Linked DNA regions of Homo sapiens: all the other regions are linked to region 1. The links are contacts of gene promoters, found by promoter capture Hi-C in human tissues and cell types (Jung and others, 2019). All regions are on one chromosome and are shown on one strand. The core of a region is centred on a gene start or on the middle of the fragment in contact, and the rest is flanking DNA. Distances in the headings are between cores, read along the strand shown.

Region 1 (4,399 bases), core at 1-2,500:
CTAAGAACCTTTCTCCCGTGGTAAAACTCGTGTCTGTTCATTTTAGAGAATACAGATAAGTAAGAAAACGAAAATAAAAGCCGTTCCCCAGGCGGTGGCGTCCCCCCCGTCGAAGCGGCTCCCCAGGCGGCGGCGTCCGCCGGGTCAGCATCCTACGTTCTCCAGTTCTTGTTACTCGTGGCTTTTCAGCGACTCTGGGGCCGCATCGAGCCCCGGCTTTGTGCGGGATGGGTATGGCACACTCGGCCCGAGTCCAAACGCCGCCAGTCACTTGCTCTGAGAGGCTGGATGAGCGACCTACCTTGATGTCCTCGTTCGTAAAATGGGTGACGGTTGCCAGGCCGGGGCGGCTGTGAGGCCCCGTGGGGGTGGCGTTTGGAGAACGCGCGCACACGCCCACCCTTCTGCAAGAACCCCGCAGACGAGAGCCTGTGCGCGCGCACAGGAGGCCCAGGGAGGAAGCCCCTCCCCGCCTGCCCTTGCCATCCCGGAGGCCACAGCCGGACAGGCCCGTGGGACAGGCCCGTGGGACGCTTCTGCACAAGGTCTCTGACCTCCGGCCTCGCAGAAGAGGTCAGAGGGTGGCCCCTGCCTGTCACGCGCCCATGGCGACCCCTCCCCAGAAGGGGTCCCAGCGTGGACTCCAGGCGCCACATCGCTCTCTCAGGGCATCCGGTCTGGGAATTCTGGCCGCTCAAAATAAGACTTCAGCGCTACTGGGTGCTACTGAAACCAAGCCTGAACATGGGCCTTTCCCGGGGGTGAGGCCCCCCGGACCTGGCGCCCTCGGCCCGACAGCGGGGCCCCGCTCCGCCGCCCGCACCCGCCCAGCCCCAGGGAGCGCGGCCCGCACGGAACGCCCGGGGAGTGAAGGCTCAGAACACTCTCGAGGGGACGCTGAGGACCACGAACCGTGGACGCGCCGCGGCTTCCCTCCGAGGTCCGAGTTTTAAGTGAGACCAGCCAGCCGCACCCCAGAGTGTCCGCCCCGTCCCGGGGCCGCCGGGCCTGGCGACGCGAGGATGCGGCGTGAGGAGGGTCCCGACGCCGGCGCCCGTCCCTCAGCCCCACACCCGGGAGCGCATCCCGTCTCCACCGCGGGCGGCACGCGGCGGGGGCCTGCGGGGGCGCCCAGGACACTTACCCAGGGCCTGCGGGGCGCGGAGGCTCAGGCACACCCGCGGGGCAGCGCGCCCTGGCCAGGAGCTGTGGCGGCGGGTGCCGGCGCTCGCATCCCGGGAACCCGCGGCGGCTCCAGGGACTGCCCCACCCCGGCACGCGAGCCGCCCGCCCCGCCCCGCAGCATCCAGGGCCGGGAGGCGGCAGAGGGCGCCCGCGGGTCCGGCTGTCTCGGGTCCGGCTGCCCCAGCTGCCCTGGCGAACCGGAGACGCCATCCGGTTCCCCTGGGGTCCGCCCTGCGCCCTTCGCGTCCCAGTGATCCCCCGGAGTCTCCGTGCCCCGAGGCGGGGGTCGCGCGCTGAGCCCCTCCAGGCCCTGCGTTCCCCCTGGGGTCTGTGTGCGCCCAGGGTCCCCCGGTTCTCCCTGCGCCCCCGTCCCCTCCCCAGCGCTCGCGGCCGGCTGTGCTGAGCTGCCGGCCCTAGAGCCGGGCGGTGTAGACCCGAACAGGTAAAGTGAGGAGAGCGTGTGCCCCCTCGCCTGCCCCATGAGGTCGTTTCGAAAATGTAAAAGGAGTCATGGTTTTTGGCGAATTATAGAGAATATTAAGATGCTTTTGGATCCTGAGCTTCCCAGGAAGCGGACGCGCGCCAGGCACGGCAGGGTCGTCCGTGCGACGTTCTTCGTCCTGGGCATTTCAGGGTCCCACGCGGCAGGTGTGCGGCCCTGGGTGCCCCTGCCCCGCCCACCCCGCCGGTCGGCACCCGGGACCGCGCGGCCGAGAGCAGGGTCCTGCCTGCAGGTCCTTAGGGCTCACCCCGCGCCCTCTGCGCGCCCGCCGGCCCCTCCGACCTCGGGCTGCGCCTTCTCCTTCCCCCTCCCGGTGGTCCTTGGCCCCCTCTAGTCCTCCGTCCGGGCGCGCAGGCCCTGGCTGAATTCCCTGTACCCTCAGGGGATCCCTGGGGACACCTCAGCCTGGCCTCGCACCCTGACGTCTCCACAGACCCTGGCCGGCTTCCACCCGTTCTCGCCCTCGCTGGGGCCGGCCATGGAGTCGGTGGTCCCTGGAGTCCGCTCCTCAGCATCCGCGGTCCTCATCCCAGCCGGGGGAACCGCGCCCTCTTCATCCCGCAAGGTCGGTTTTCAGCAACGCGGCCGAGGCTGTCACTGGCGCCCCCAGGTTCTCAGTCAAACCCCGTCTCCCTGACGCCCCCAACCCGCCCCGCGCCTCCTGCTGTTCTCTGAATAAGGCGTGCGGGCCTTGGGGCCTTTGCACTCGCTGTCTGCTGTCGGCTCAGGAAAAGTCTCTTTTCCAGACACAGCTCCCAAGGTGGGGTGGGCGCAGCTGAGAAGCCCACCCTGCCCCCAAGTGGCCACCGCCCCTCCCCGGGTGTAGCTCCTGCAGGGCAGCCCAGAATTGCTGAGTTCTGCCGCTCTGTCCCCAGGGGTCACCAAGTCGGCTCTGCTCACCTCTGGTTCCTGTCGAATAGCAGAGGCTCAAAAATGTGAGCTGAGTAAATGGGCTTTTTTGGGACAGAGTCTTGCTTTGTCACCCAGGCCTGAGAGCAGTGGTGCGATCTCAGTTCACTGCAGCCTCTGCCTCCAGGGCTCAAGCGATTCTCGTGCCTCAGCCTCCCAAGTAGCTGGGATTACAGTCGCGCGCCACCACACCTGGCTAATTTTTTTTTTTTTTTAAGTAGATAGTGGTTTTGCCATCTTGGCCAGGCTGGTCTCGAACTCCTGACCTCAGGTGATCCACCCACCTCGGCTTGCCAAAGTGTTGGGATTACAGGCATGAGCCACTATGCCACTGAGACAGCCAGGAGCCCTGGGTGCACACATTTATTTTTTGATATGGAACAATGTGCAACTATATTGCTGTATTTTTAAAAATCATTAGTTTTATCTTGATCCAATTTTTGTAAAGTGAATTATGCACAGAAAATGTGTAGCTGGATAACTCTGAGGTAACAGGTGAACTTTAATTTCTTTTTACTTTTTGAAAAGTCTACAATTCCTGTAAATTTTTGCAAGAAGCACATAGTACCTTTGTGATCTGTTAAAATAAGAACCTGTGGGTAGAATGTGATGGTGGTGAGCCGCAGTCCCCCTGCATGGGAAGACAGCACCCCCATGTCTCAGGGCAAGCACGGGTTCCCTTCCACCTACCCTGTCCCACCAGAACCAACTGGAATGAGACACTTTGTTACTCTATTTCCTGGGTACAGAAGGAAACTGCTCCTCCTTCCTTCCCACTGCCCTTGACCGGCACAGGCCATCCACGCCCACCTGTCCCCTGTGCTTGTCCCCAAAGTCTCAGGTCTCTGCAGGACCTGGGGCAGCCAGTGGGACTGTGCAGAAAAAGGATGACCCTGCCGTGGGAGCCACTGCCCCTAAAGTCTCAGGGTTTAGCAGGCAGAGCCCCACGTGGAGTCCTGGAGTCTCTGGGCACCCCACCAGCACAATGGGGGATCCCTGAGCCACCTCCCGTTCAGACGGGCTATTGGGCGTGCCTCCCTCCCCACCACGAAGGTCCAGATGCAGCTGACACCCCCAGTCACAGAGTCTCCTTTCTGCCTCTGTGCTGGGGACCCTGTTCAGGAGGTCTCCTCCCTCCAGTCCGGACTTGCTGTCCCCAGTGTCATTGAACCCTCTGGCTCCCACCCACACTCCCAGCAGCTGGAGACACACCCCTTTCTCCTGGGCCACTGGTCCTCTCGGGACTCTGAACCAGAGGCGCTAACACCTGGCAGGGATGGCAGCTGGGGCAGGACTGGAAGCCTCCGAGGACCCACCCCCAGCTCCGGGTACCCCCACACTGGAGTCTGGTGCGGTGGGTCCCCAGAGCCATATGAGCTGGACTTGGCCTCCAGTGGACCGCCACATGGCAGGTGCCCACGGCCGGCTGCAGCGCCAGGCCCCTCCCAAACAGGCCCAAGTTGGCTTCACAGAAGTGTGGGGGCAAAGCTGCTCTTCATGGGCCTCCAGGAGTGGTGACTGTGACTGCCCCCTCCTGTCCTCTCCTGGCCACACCTTTGCCTCCCACAGGCAGGCCAGGTCAGGAGCCCCCAGGGCCCTGACCTCAGAGGCAGACAGGGGTGTGCTGACCCCTCGGGCCAGGCCAGGACCCCGCACAGGCGCCTGCGGCTCTCTGGCTCTCTGATGGCGGCTGGGTTTCCCGGGTTCCCCGGGTTCCCCATGACTGCTGTGTCTCCAGCGTTGATGCCTCACAGGGAGCCGCTTGGGCAGCCCTGGTCACGCCTGGGTTCCCTCTCTCTCCCA
Region 2 (4,634 bases), core at 718-3,217, 320 kb before region 1:
TAAATGCAGAGGCTTCTAGATGGGGGACCACGTGTGTTTAAATGCAGAGGCTTCTAGACGGGGGACCACGTGTGTTCAAATGCAGAGGCTTCTGGACGGGGGACCACGTGTGTTTAAATGCACAGGCTTCTGGACGGGGGACCACGTGTGCTTAAATGCAGAGGCTTCTAGACGGGGGACCACGTGTGTTTAAATGCACAGGCTTCTAGACGGGGGACCACGTGTGCTTAAATGCACAGGCTTCTAGACGGGGGACCACGTGTGTTCAAATGCAGAGGCTTCTGGACGGGGGACCACGTGTGTTTAAATGCACAGGCTTCTGGACGGGGGACCACGTGTGTTTAAATGCACAGGCTTCTGGACGGGGGACCACGTGTGCTTAAATGCAGAGGCTTCTGGACCGGGGACCACGTGTGCTTAAATGCACAGGCTTCTAGACGGGGGACCACGTGTGCTTAAATGCACAGGCTTCTGGATGGGGGATGGGGGGCCATGTGTGTTTAAATGCAGAGACTTCTGGACGGGGGATGGGGACCCACGTGTGTTTAAATACAGAGGCTTCCAGATGGAGGAGGCCCACATGTGTTTAAATACAGAGGCTTCCAGATGAAGGCCACGTGCAGAGGCTTCCAGGCGGGGTGGGGGGGCCACGTGCGTTTAAACAGAGGCTGCCTGTGTTGTTTTGCTGTGTTTTTCTTCTCTAAAGAGGAAGCGTTGTGTGGGATCTCTGAGATGTTGGTTCCCATGAAACGGACAGTATGTACTTGTCAGACAAGTTCAGAGGCAGTTTTCGAAGCCGTCCCGGGCCGACTTCACTCGCAATTTAAAGATGCTGACAAGGCCCCTCTGGATGTGCACATCCTCACGTGGCTCTGCCCTCACACCAGGACTCCCGGAGGGCGGCTTCTGCCTGGGTGTGGCTCTCTGACCACCAGCTCCCTGTGCTAAGGATGCCAGCAGCCCGTGGGGAGGCCCTTGCAGCGTGGAGGGAGCCTGGGAGGATCCTGTCCCGTGAGGCCTCAGATGAGACGGTGGCCCCAGCCCACGGCTGAGACAGAGCCCCCATGAGGCCTCAGATGAGACGGCGGCCCCGGCCCACGGCTGAGACGGAAGGAGGGAGCCTGGCTGAGCTGAGCCTGAGGCCCAATACACAGAAATCCAAGGTGATAAATGCAGGTTTTCAGCTGCTGGTTTTGGGGTAACTTGCCCTGTAGCCCCAGCTCACCATGGGACACTGGCCGTCATCTCCTTCATAAAAGGAGAGTGGCCTCGGTTTTCCCCAGTTCGAGGCCCTGAGAGATGGGTCAGCAAGACAAAGTCACGTCCAGGCCTGGCTCCTGCAGCACCCGGCACTGCCCAGTGGTGGAGGGTCCCTTGGGCCCGGGGAGAGAAGGTGGCCAGCGCCACTGCTGTCTCCAAAGTGCTCCAGGCCTGTTGTGAGACAGGGCAGGCCGCGTTCCGGGGGTGGCCGGGTCCCGGGCAGGGAGTGGAGACATGGGGCTGCAGAGATGGCAGTTGGGACAGTGTGGCATCAAGGAGCTGCCCTCGTTCCTGGAAGTCAGAGCCATGTTTCCCCCAGTCACATGGACACAGACACAGCGCCAGGGCGGGCTCACCAGCTCCTTGTGTGTGTGGTGCAGCTCCGCCGTCACCTCGCTCATCTCCCGGGCGTGCTGCTGCTGCTGCTCAGCAAGGCGGCTTTGCAGGGACTTACTCTCCAGAGCCAGGGAGCCGACATCTTCACCCACCATCGCAGAGCTGTCCTGAGCTGCTGTGAATTCTTCAACAGATGACAAGATGTGTCTTGCCTGAGCTAGGAGTGAAAACCAAATATTACATTAGCACTTAGGCTTAAAGGATGAAATGTAAACAAAATCGGCTCAGTATGTTTTGAATCACACAGACGATGCCTCAAAAAGACGACAGGTAGGGAGAGGGGAAAGGGGTGTTGGCGCCACAAAACCACCTCAGGCTCTGTGCGTCCACACACGGGCAGGGTGGGAACTGAAGAAAGAGAAGAGGTGACCTCCAAGAAAAGGGGCAACCAGGGGCCGCCACGTCTCAAGGTTTCAGTGGCGCCGCCACAACTCGCTGCGCCTTCCACAAGCACCGACTGCCCTGTGTGGAAACCACCATGCAGACGACAGCTGGCAACTCCACACTGGGACAGTGGCCTGGGCCTGGGACAGTCCCCCCGCCACCGACGATGGCAAGCTCAGGAGGCTCCCACAGGACACCAGCCTAGGGAGAGGGGAGGTTTATGGGGCTGGGGTCCAGGTGGGCTGCGACTGCAGGGCGTCCTCATTCTAGGAGCTGAGGGGCTATAACACTGCAAGGCGCAGTCAGACAGCTCAGAGCCGTGCCCAGGGTCTGCGGGGAGAAGCACACTGGCTAGGCTCCTGAGGGACACACACAGCCACACCCCAGGATGCAGGACAAAGAGAAGGTGCCCCTGGGGACGCGGCATCTCCTGGTCTCCCAGTGTGATCCTGGATGAGGGAGGCCCCAGTGTGCTCATGTACGGGTTGCCTGGTAGAATCCAACAGACCCAAGTCCTCTCTGGGGAGGGACCACCCTCCTGGGTCCCACACCAACCAAAAGCTCTGCAATCCAGGCCCAGCACAGGCTACACGTCTGGGTCGGGGGAGAAGATGCTGAGCAGCTTCCAAACTCCAAATCCCCATGTGATCACAGCCATCAGAACCAAGCCCCTTTGGACAGCATTTTGAGCAAAATGAGGTGACAGGCCCCCCAACACCCCAGAGCACAGCGGGGGACCCACAGGCCCAGGCCCATGTGGTGTCTCCCGAGAGCCCTGGACACTGTGAGATGCAAAGACTGCCAGGGAGGGCCCAGGCGCGGGACCACCACACGCTCGTGGGAGGGGACATAGGAGACCTGGGGCTGAGATGACTCCTAGGTCACCACACGCAGAGGACCCCGGAACCCACACAGACGCTGCCTACAGGGCAAGAGCAGTGGCCGCCCTGACTCACCAAGGAATGCCTCGTTGCTGTGCAGGGACCTGCAGCCGCCCCAGCTCCTGTCCACCAGGTCCAAGAGCGTCTCCAGGAGCGCCGCCTGCAGGGCCGTCTTCTTCCCGGGTAGAGCCGAGTGTGACCCGGGAGACGGCTGTGATGGAAACAACAGCATGAGGCCAGCGAGTCAGTAACTGAGGTCCTGAATGCCAGCAGGTGCCCAAGCGCACCCTGGGATGCCCTCGCACCACGAAGGGGAGGACAGGTGCCCTGAGGCCCCAGCCCTGAGCCAGGTGGAGGGCGGCTCAGCAGTGCCTGCCCAGTGAGGCTTAGCCAGGTGCACCGGTCCTGGATGAGTGAGGTCTCGATGACAGGACAGGACGGGGCCCACACATTCCCAACTCAAGCAGGCCCCAGACTCCTCCCCTCAACCCAGACAGGGAAGCGGAAGACACATCCAGGCCGCAGTCAGAGCCTGTGTTCAAAAGGAGCTGCCCAGGAAGCAGCCTGCACCCACAGTCAGGCTGGTAGAGGGTGCCAGGCGCTGTCCCCAGCAATGGCCCGGAGTCAAACAATAACCCTGAAACAGACCGCCCACCTCCCCCATCTCTGCCTCCTTCCAGCTCAGGACCTGCCGGGGACGTCAAACACGCCCCACCCAGCTCTGGGACCCCCCCCCACCCCATGCTGCTACGGAGCTGCCTCTAGCTCCGGCCATGCCTCCCTTCCTGTCCCACAGTTCCGCACCTTCAAGCTCCTCTGCCTGCATGGGAGTCTGAAGCCCTCGTTGTGGCAAGTACCAAGTGAACAGCCCCTGCCTGTTCCCTTCTGGGTGGTCTGCACTCATGTCTACAGCAGGTGTGTCTCAACGCCTCTGACTGGGCCTGCGCCAGTTGTCCCCCTGACCTCTAGGTCACCCTGAGGGTGGAGTGACTCGGTCTCTCATCACAGCGACCTCCAGGATCCTCCCCTCACGAAAGGGTCATCAATGGCTCAGCCGGCCAAGATGCCCGATTCCAGCTTTGGAGACAAATGCCCTGTGCACCGTAAGGCAGAGTCCCCTCTCTCCACCACGGGGCTTCCACTCAGAACAGCAGCGCAGGACAGCGTGTGGCACAGAGGCACACGTCCAACAAAACGCAGCAGCAAGCACCCTGGAACCCTAAGTGTGATGATTCCCTTTATCCTGGGACACGGTCAGTGCCGTAGGCGTAATCACGGCACCGCCAAAGCCGTAACAGCCCCGCATCAGGGAGGGACACGGTCAGTGCCGTAGGCGTAATCACGGCACCGCCGTAACAGCCCTGCATCAGGGAGGGACACAGTCAGTGCCGCAGGCGTAATCACGGCCCCGCCAAAGCCGTAACAGCCCCACATTAGGGAGGCAGTGCCGTGGGCCTGCTGCTCCCCAGCCCTTCTCTCACCTCTCTGGTGTCGGTCACACCCCGAGACCTCTGCTCCTCAGTCTCCGAGGCCTCAGGCTGAGACAAGGTCCTCCCGTTCCTGCTTTCTGAGCTGTCCTGTCTGCTCAGGCTCTCCTTGGGCACGGAGGACCCATGAGTTCTCTCCGGGCAGCCCAAACCCTCCTGGTCCGAAAACGTCTGGAATCTTCCAACAGGCATTCTTCGCTTCCTGCACTTTCCGGGGGCTGGCAGG
Region 3 (4,060 bases), core at 823-3,322, 290 kb before region 1:
TCTTAAAATACGCTGAACTGGATGAAAATTAAAATACAACATAACAAAATTTGTGGATACAGCTAAAGCAGTGCTTACAGGGAAACTTGTGGCACTGTTTATAATAGAAAATAGGAAAGTCTCAAATCAATAATCTACAGTTTTGCCTCAAGGATTTAGAAAAGTATAAAATAAATGCAAAGCAAGCAGAAAGAAGGAAATAAAAAAAAGCAGAAATCAATGAAATTTGAAACTAGAAAAACACTGGAGAAAAATCAAACCCAAAGTCGGTTCTTTGAAACTATCAATAACATTCACAAGCCTCTAGCAAGACTAAAAAAGAAAGAATACACAGATTATCAACATCAGGAACAGAAAAGGGATATCCCTGTAAACCTTGTAGCACTAATCAGGGAAGAAGGGAGGACTCGGCATGTCCCGAGGTCAGCTGCCCTCTCACCTGCTTCCTCAGAGCCCTGTGGTGCCTACTGCCTCAGGATCACTTGGATTTTGTCACGAGGTTACAGTTCCCCTTAACCACTCTACAGATAATAACCTGGACATTATAAACCGTTAAGTTTTCCATTTGAGATATTCTTTCAGGACCTGGGGACTGATGCCAGCTGGTCTAAAGGGCCCCGCAAGCGGATTCACCAAAGAATGCAGTTTCCACACCCTGATAATTCCATGGCCCTTACCTCCACCAACTGACAACACCAATCTTCCAGCTCCTCACAGTCCTGTTCCTCTAAAACCCCCAGCTCAGGCTGGGTGTAGGTGGCTCATGCCTGTAATCCCAGCACTTTGGGAGGCCAAGGCAGGTGGATCACCTGAGATCAGGAGTTCAAGACCAGCCTGGCCAACATGGTGAAACCCCGTCTCTACTAAAAATATAAAAAATTAGCCGGGCATGGTGGCGCGTGCTTGTAATCCCAGCTACTCAGGAGGCTGAGTGAATCACTTGAACCTGGGAGGTGGAGGTTGCAGTGAGCTGAGATTGTGCCACTGCACTCCAACCTGGACGACAGAGTGAGACTCCGTCTAAAAAAAAAAAACCGCTCAGATCTCCTTGGGGAGATGGATTGAGGCCTCCTTCCACCTCCCTGCTGGGCCCCTGCCAGCCTTAAACTCTTTCTCTGCTGCAAACCCCACTGTCTCAGTGTATTGGCCTGTGGCCCCCACAGCACCTGACTGAACCTGTTGGTCCAGTAACACCTGCAGACCACACACAGACATTAACAGGCTAACAACAGAACACCAGAAACAACTCAACACACACACTCCACAAGTTAGCTCAAATAAGCCAATGCCACAAAACCCCACACAGCCAAGACTCGCGGTGAACTAATATGAACGGTTCTCTAACAACCAGAGATACAGAATTTGTCATTTAAAAGCTTCAAAAACAGAAATTGACATGTCCATATGGTTTCACTGGAAAATTCCAGGAAACATTCAAACAATGAGCACACACTCTACAGAACCTCTTCTAAATATAAGAGAAGGCAACACTTCTCAGCAGTTTATGAGCTCGGCTTCACCTTGACGCCAAAACCAGACAAAAATAAGCCAAAAAGAAGGAAACCGGCCACCAACATCCTCAAGAAGGCCGAGCGCAACAATCACCACAGAGTGGGCCCAGGAGAACCAGGGAGGTGATCCCCAGCGGGAGGGCGGGCTGCGCTCCTGGACAGCAAGGCCGGCTCCCTCTTCTCAGCGGATGTAACCCCCAGTCACGGAACCAGTGACCCGATAGACAGGCAGGGGCCGGGACGCCGGGACCCGAACGCGGGCAGGGGCCGCACCTGGGCACGGGGGGTGGGTCGCTCACCTGGACACGCGCGCCCCGCTCGCCCGCGACCGTTCCGGACGCCCGCGGCGCCTGCGTAGACGGGTCCCGCCTGCCCACGGTCCGCCGCCGCCCCGGGAAGCTCGGCACCCACCCCCCCGCCACCTCACGCTTGCACCCCCGCCCGCCCTCCGGCGCACCCAGGTCGCGGTGAGGCCCTAAGCCGCTCTTCGCCCGAACCGCCTCCTCGCTCAGCACCAGCCGAGGGCCAGCCCGCGCCATGTTTCAAACGGAGCCCTCGGACGGCGCCTGCGCGGCGGGCGGGGCGAGGCTACGAGAGGGGCGGGACCTGCGTCGGCAGAACCGAGAGCCTGGCGGGACGGGGCGGGGCCTGCGCGGCGGGGCGAGGGGCGTGGCTGGGGGAGGGGGCGGGACTGCGTGGGCGGAACCAAGAGCCTGGCGGGGGGTTCTCCTGAATGGCGGTTCTCCCAGGTACTGGCCACGCGACCCCAGCCCCCGCCCCAGATAGCTCCCTGTCAAGGCTTCCCTGGGCGCGGCCGCCTTCTAGGCCCCGGCCCTTGACACACGCGGTGTCCTCCCGGGGAAACCCCGAGTAGGCGCGGTGGAATCGCGGCTGGTGGTGGGCATGGGGACCCTGCCCCATCCACACTCCGCTCCCACCCTGAACCCAGCGCCCCCGGGGACCCCCGACTCACCTAGACTCCCCACCCAACCCGACCCCCCCGCGGGGACCCCTCCAGACACCCCAGCACCCGCCCGGAGCCTTGTCTGCTGCACCTCCCGTCCAGCCCCGGGCCTCCCAGAGGTGGGCGGGAGCTGAGCTTCTCCCCAGCCAGTCACTCCCCACGGCCGGTCCTTCTCCACCCCAGAACCTCCAGAGATGTCACAGGCCCAGCACTGTGGCTCGTGGCTGACCGCGCCCTGGAGGGTCTCGCTGTGTTTATCCTTGTGAGGTCCTTCTACAGAGCTTTCAAGGAAGACAGAGTTCAGCCTGTTTATTGGGAAGACTTTAATCCTGCTCAAGACATCTACTGTGTCACCGTACCACTGTGGCCCAGCGCCTGGTGGAGTGAATCCAGACCCCCAGGGGTGTCCCCTCCCCGCCTTTCTCCTGGTGTCTAGGGGCACCCAGAAACCCTCACCCCAGATTAGACCAGCTCGTTGGCAACATCCCTGGTATGTCACAGCCTGGGGGGTGATAGACAAGGCAGGGTAGTGGTGGGGGGTACGTATGGTGGTAGTAGACGAGGGTATACACAGACAGAGGGTGTACATGGGGAATGTGTGCAGGGGCTGTGTGCAGGGAGTGTGTGTGGATGGTGTAGGGGAGTGTGTAGGGGAGTGTGTAGGGGGTGTGTGCAGAGGTTGTACACGGGGTGTGCAGGAGGTGTACTCAGAATGTGTTCAGGGAGTGTGTGCAGAAGGTGTACATGGGGTGTATGCAGGAGGAGTGTGCAGAGGGTGTACATGTAGGGGGTGTGTGCAGACAGTATACAGAAGGGGTGTGTGCAGAGGATGCACACAGGGTCTCTGCAGGGAGTATGTGCAGTGCTGTACATAAGGAGTATGCAGGGGGTATATACAGGGTGTATGTGCAAGGGGTGTGTGCAACAGTGTGTGCAGGAGGTGTGTGCAGGGTCTATGTGTGGGGGTGTGTGCAACAGTGTGTGCAGGAGGTGTGTGCAGGAGGTGTGTGCAGGAGCTATGTGTGGGGGTGTGTGCAACAGTATGTGCAGAGGTGTGTGTAGGGGCTATGTGTGGGGGTGTGTGCAACAGTGTGTGCAGGAGGTGTGTGCAGGAGGTGTGTGCAACAGTGTGCAGGGGGTGTACACAAGGTGTGTGCAGGAGGTGTGTGTAGATGTGTGTGCAGGAGGTATACACAGGGTTTGTGCAGAGGATGTGTGTGGGAGGTGTGTGCAGGGGATCTGTGCAGGGAGTGTACACAGGCTGTGTGCAGAGGCTATGTGCAGGGGGTGTGTGCAACAGTGTGCAGGGAGTGTACACAAGGTGTGTGCAGGAGGTGTGTGCAGAGGTGTGTGCAGGAGGTATACATGGTGTGTGAAGGTATGTGTAGAGGTGTGTGCAGGGGGTATACACAGGGTTTGTGCAGAGGATGTGTGAGGGAGTTGTGTGCAGGGGATCTGTGCAGGGAGTGTACACAGGCTGTGTGCAGGGGGTATGTGCAACAGTGTGCAGGGGGGGTGTGTGCAGAGGTGTGTGCAGGGGGTGTACACAGAGGGTGGTGGCAGGCGGTGGATGCAAGGCTGCATC
Region 4 (4,585 bases), core at 154-2,653, 340 kb before region 1:
GTGGGTGAGAGCATGGACTAAACGCACACATGCCATAAGCATGGGACAGAAGCAGAGTACAGTCTCCAAACGAGCAGAGGGACATGCGGGATGACAGGAGATCATCCAAAAGTGGCAAAAGTGAAGAGGGAAAAAACCATGAATAGAACAAACAGCACAAAATGAGATGGCAGATTTAAACTAATGAGATGGTGGATCAATCAGCTTCGCTGAGGCCGGGCGCGGTGGCTCACACCTGTAGTCCCAGCACTTTGGGAGGCCGAGGCGGGCAGATCACAAGGTCAGGAGATTGAGACCATCCTGGCTAACACAGTGAAACCCTGTCTCTGCTAAAAATACAAAAAATTAGCCAGGCGTGGTGGCGGGCGCCTGTAGTCCCAGCTACTCGGGAGGCTGAGGCAGGAGAATGGCGTGAACCCGGGAGGCGGAGCTTGCAGTGAGCCGAGATCACGCCACTGCACTCCAGCCTGGGCAATAGAGCGAGACTCCATCTCAAAAAAAAAAAAAAAAAAAAAAAAAAAAAAAAAAAAAAAAATCAGCTTTGCTGATAAAACAAGAGAAAGAAACACAGAACAGGGAAATTGATAAAATAATATTTTAACCCATATTTATTTGTAATTTCAGCATGGCTAATGATAGATCAGATCAGAAATTGAAAAGAAAATGGAGGCAAAGGGTGTTTCTTTGAAAGGACTGAAGAGAAAGTTCAAATAACGAATATGAAGAATGGCCAAGAATGGGCTGAGTCCCCGGGAGGCAGATGCTGAGGTGGCCTTTGTATCACAAGAGGCTCACTGGTGAGGAATGCCCCTGAACAGCAGCAAGGGGAGGAGGCCGGGAGGCCTCAGGGAGGCTCTGGAGATGACCTGCTAGGGAGCTCCCTGTGGTTCGCATTAGGCCCAGGCCCTGCCTGCTTGGACACTGGCTGCAGCTGCCTGGATGAGTGTGTCCTCAGCTCCAGAGCCCAGGCACAGCCTGACAGCATGGTGGCTGGAGATGGTCTCTACCCCTGTACTCCCTGCCCCTGGATGGCAAGGTCTCGCTTGAAGGGACACAACTGTCCCTACATCTCTGCCACAGGGACACACACAACTTCAAATGTTGAAGCCATTCAAATTATGTGTGTTATACCCCCCAAAATGGAAAATTAAGACAATATGGACCAATTCTTAGAGACACATAACTTACAAAAACTAACTCGAAAAGAAATGGAAAGCCTGCTCAGCCCTGTGACTTAGGGGAAGTCACTGCCAGCTACAAAAGAAAACCCCTAACACTTCAGTGGCTGGACACACAAAATGTATTACTCACACAACGTCCAACTTCAGGAATAACAAGAGATCTCTTCTAACAGAAGACAAACAGACTTCCTAATCCTGTGATGCAGCTGCCCAGGTCACTGGCAGGGAAGCTATCACAGTGACGCACCAGCTCCCGCTGCTCTGGCCCTGAAATGACTCACCTCAGTCCCACACACAGGCTGTTGCTCAGTAGTCACACGGCCCCAGCCCAACTCAGGGATATGCAGCGTAAAGGCAGGGGGGACATAAGGATGGTCTGTGTGAACGGTTCTGCCACATCCTGGAACACTGAGTTATACTGGATCAGTAGTCAAACCTCCTGACAAAGAAAGTTCCAGGCACAAGTGACTTCACCAGCAAGTTCCATCAAACATCCATGGAAGAAATAATTATAATCTTAAGTAAATTCTCCTAGAGAATGGAGAAAGAATACACAACCTAGCTCATTTTACGGTGGTGTAAAGATGCGAATCCTTTCAAGAACAGCATTACAAAGGAAAATCGTAAGTGGCTGTCACCCGTGAAGAGAGATACTAACCACTGTACTAGAGCACGCAGCTACCCAGTGCTCAGGACGCACCAGATGCTGCCCGAGAGTCTTATTCATACTAACTCATTTCACCTTCACAACAATCCTGTGAGGAAGCCACTATTTCCCCATTGTACAGACGAGGAAATCAGGGCCCAAACACAGGTGCTAGGTAGTATAGCTGGGCCACAAAATGCTAAACAAAATATTAACAAACCAAATATAACAATATGTATGTAAAAGAAAATCCATAATTATTAAGTTGGACTTATCTCAGAAATTCAAGGTTTATTTTTAACAAAAGCAAATTATGGTCGTTAAACACATCAATATATTAAATGATAAAAATCATGGTCATCTCCATCACTGCAGAAAAAGTGATAAAAGTCATCCATTCTTGAGGCGAATTATTGATAGAAGAAGCTTTAAAACAAGCAAAAAAAATCCATTACAAGTGAGTGGATAAATGGTGAGAATTTATCACCCCTTTGAATATCAGGAAGAAGACAACGATGCCCACTCTGTTACCACCTCTAATCAGCACTGCACTAGGGGTTCCGACCAGTGTAGAAAAGCAAAAAACAAAACAAAAATAAAAACATAAAGTAAAAATCCAGAACAACAGGAATGGGAAAGAAAACCCATTACTCATAGAAAACATGACTGTGTGCCTAAAAATGAGGAAACAGCTACAGGCAAATGATTAAAATTACTAGACTGCCGGATACAAATTAATACACAAAAATGAATTTCCATGAAATGGCAACACATAATTAGGAAAATGAAATCCAAGCACATTTTTAAAAACAGCATCGCAAAATAACAAGGACCTAGGATTAAATGTAACAAAAGACATACAAGACCACTGTGAAAAGTATCAGGCTGTATGAACACCCGCTGAAGGAGCCCTAACATTTGGAGAGACAGATACCATGTTCAGAGCTTGTAAAACCCAGTACTGCAAGTACGTCAATGATTCCCAAGTTGATCTACAGGTTCAACACAATCCCAAACAAAATCCCAACTCGACCGGCTAGTTCTAAAATGTATGAAACACAAAGGGTCAAAAACAGCCAAGACATCCTAACATAAGATGGAGGTACGCGCCCCAGAGTGTGTGGTATTGGCAGAGACAGACAAGGAGATGCAGAAACGGACACAGAGATCATCCTGACAAAGGAATCTTCAGCAGCCGGGACTGGGAAAACTGGGCTTATGTCTGCAACACAATGAAACTGGATCCTTAAGCTTCACAACAGGCGCAAAAATCAATTCTGGGTAGAATCTATATCTAAAATCCAAAATATACAAAACTATAAAATCCTTTGGAAGGTAACAGAGTATCTTTATGATCAAGGCAAAGTAAAGATTATTAAAAATTAGGATCCAAAATGCTTTAATCATAAAAGAAAATATTGATACATTGGGCCATATTAAAGTTTAAAATTTCTCTTAAAAGACACCATTGAAGTAAAAAGACAAGAAAAGCTATTTGCAAATGTAATTCACAAAGCACTACTACCCAGAATCATAAATAACACCTGCAAATAAATGAGACAGACCATCCAATAGAAAAGTAGGGAAAATACTTGAATAGGTACTTTACAAACAGGAAATCCCAATGAGCCGCAGACACATGAGAAGGTGCTGAACAAGGAGAAGCCAATGAAACCAGAAAGAGGTCTACCCCACACGTTCCACCACCCCGCGCCCTCCGCCACCCCGCGCCCTCCACCACCCCACTCCCTCCACTACCCCACACCCACCGGAGTGAAGGTGCTAACACTTCAGGCAATGGGTGCTGAAAACATGGACCGGCAGACGTGGTCATACACAACTAGCAGTCGGGCCTGCGGGTACCACCACTTTGGAACAGTTGGGAATTTCTAGTAAACCTGTTAAAAACATGGTTAAGCAGTTAATGGAAACGTGAACATAATGGGATATAAAACTAATGAAAAAAATCAAATGGAGTTTTTTTGTTTTTTTTTTGAGACGGAGTCTTGCTCTGTCGTCTAGGCTGGAGTGCAGTGCTGCAATCTTGGCTCACTGCAACCTCCGCCTCCCAGGTTCAAACGATTCTCCTGCCTCAGCCCCCCAAGAAGCTGGGACTACAGGTGCCCACCACCATGCCCAGCTAATTTTCATTTTTAGCAGAGATGGAGTTTCGCCATGTTGGCCAGGCTGGTCTCAAACTCCTGGCCTCAAGTGATCCTCCTGCCTCAGCCTCCCAAAGTGCTGGGATTACGGTGTGAGCCACCCCGCCTAGCCTCAAATGGAATTTTAGAACAAAAATATACCTAATTTCTGATATAAAAAATTCACTATACAAGCTTAACATCAAATTAGGCAAGTGGAAGAAAAGATTAGTAAGCCTCGCAACAGGACAATAAAACCACCTAAAGGAAAGGATGAGAGAACAAGGATGAAAAAGCATCACGTTTAGTGACCTGAGAGACAGTATCACAGTCTAACAGAAAGCTAACTAGAGTCCCAGATGGGGACAGGGAGGAAGAAGTGAGAGACGGGGTCAGACAAGAAATATGAGTAGTGGCTGCAACTTTGCCAAATCTGGTGAAAAATATGAACTCACAGGTCCAAGAAGCTCAATGAAACCCAAACGAGGTAAGCATCTATAAGCTTAAAGTGGATTAATATTAACATCTTCTAATACTCTTACATACATAAATTACGTGATGACAAATTAACCCCATCCCAACCCTACAGAAAATAAATTTGGTATGACACATTTTCC

What was found. Contacts are between HindIII fragments. The study calls those that stand out against the background at their distance.
Region 2: a fragment that was not itself captured here is called in contact with the fragment with the promoter of AHRR in region 1 in 2 of the 25 tissues and cell types used here (lymphoblastoid cells and mesendoderm cells).
Region 3: the fragment with the promoter of CEP72 here is called in contact with the fragment with the promoter of AHRR in region 1 in 1 of the 25 tissues and cell types used here (lymphoblastoid cells).
Region 4: a fragment that was not itself captured here is called in contact with the fragment with the promoter of AHRR in region 1 in 4 of the 25 tissues and cell types used here (IMR-90 fibroblasts, dorsolateral prefrontal cortex, lymphoblastoid cells and 1 more).

What each region holds. Positions count from the first base shown.
Region 1 is chr5:318,565-322,963 of GRCh38, reverse strand. AHRR (aryl hydrocarbon receptor repressor) reads right to left here and starts at 1,250. Exons shown (of 11, transcript NM_001377236.1): 1 at 1,145-1,250. The region is part of intron 3 of PDCD6-AHRR (PDCD6-AHRR readthrough (NMD candidate)); the gene reads right to left. RefSeq lists enhancers at 239-358, 447-1,014, 4,148-4,399 and silencers at 599-658, 669-1,048, 1,139-1,628, 1,779-2,038. The HindIII fragment of the contact is 29,634 bases long and covers 1-4,399 here.
Region 2 is chr5:637,587-642,220 of GRCh38, reverse strand. CEP72 (centrosomal protein 72) reads right to left here. Exons shown (of 12, transcript NM_018140.4): 7 at 4,403-4,634; 8 at 2,997-3,132; 9 at 1,617-1,813. Among named protein-coding and RNA genes, the nearest start is that of CEP72, 28 kb to the right of the region's middle. The HindIII fragment of the contact is 9,549 bases long and covers 1-4,634 here.
Region 3 is chr5:610,352-614,411 of GRCh38, reverse strand. CEP72 (centrosomal protein 72) reads right to left here and starts at 2,072. Exons shown (of 12, transcript NM_018140.4): 1 at 1,969-2,072. The coding sequence starts at 2,050. CEP72-DT (CEP72 divergent transcript) reads left to right here and starts at 2,202. Exons shown (of 3, transcript NR_103444.1): 1 at 2,202-2,260; 2 at 2,659-2,965. RefSeq lists enhancers at 1,289-2,218, 2,219-3,149. The HindIII fragment of the contact is 15,731 bases long and covers 1-4,060 here.
Region 4 is chr5:654,596-659,180 of GRCh38, reverse strand. It overlaps a transcript of CEP72 not described here. Among named protein-coding and RNA genes, the nearest start is that of TPPP, 36 kb to the left of the region's middle. The HindIII fragment of the contact is 7,661 bases long and covers 1-4,585 here.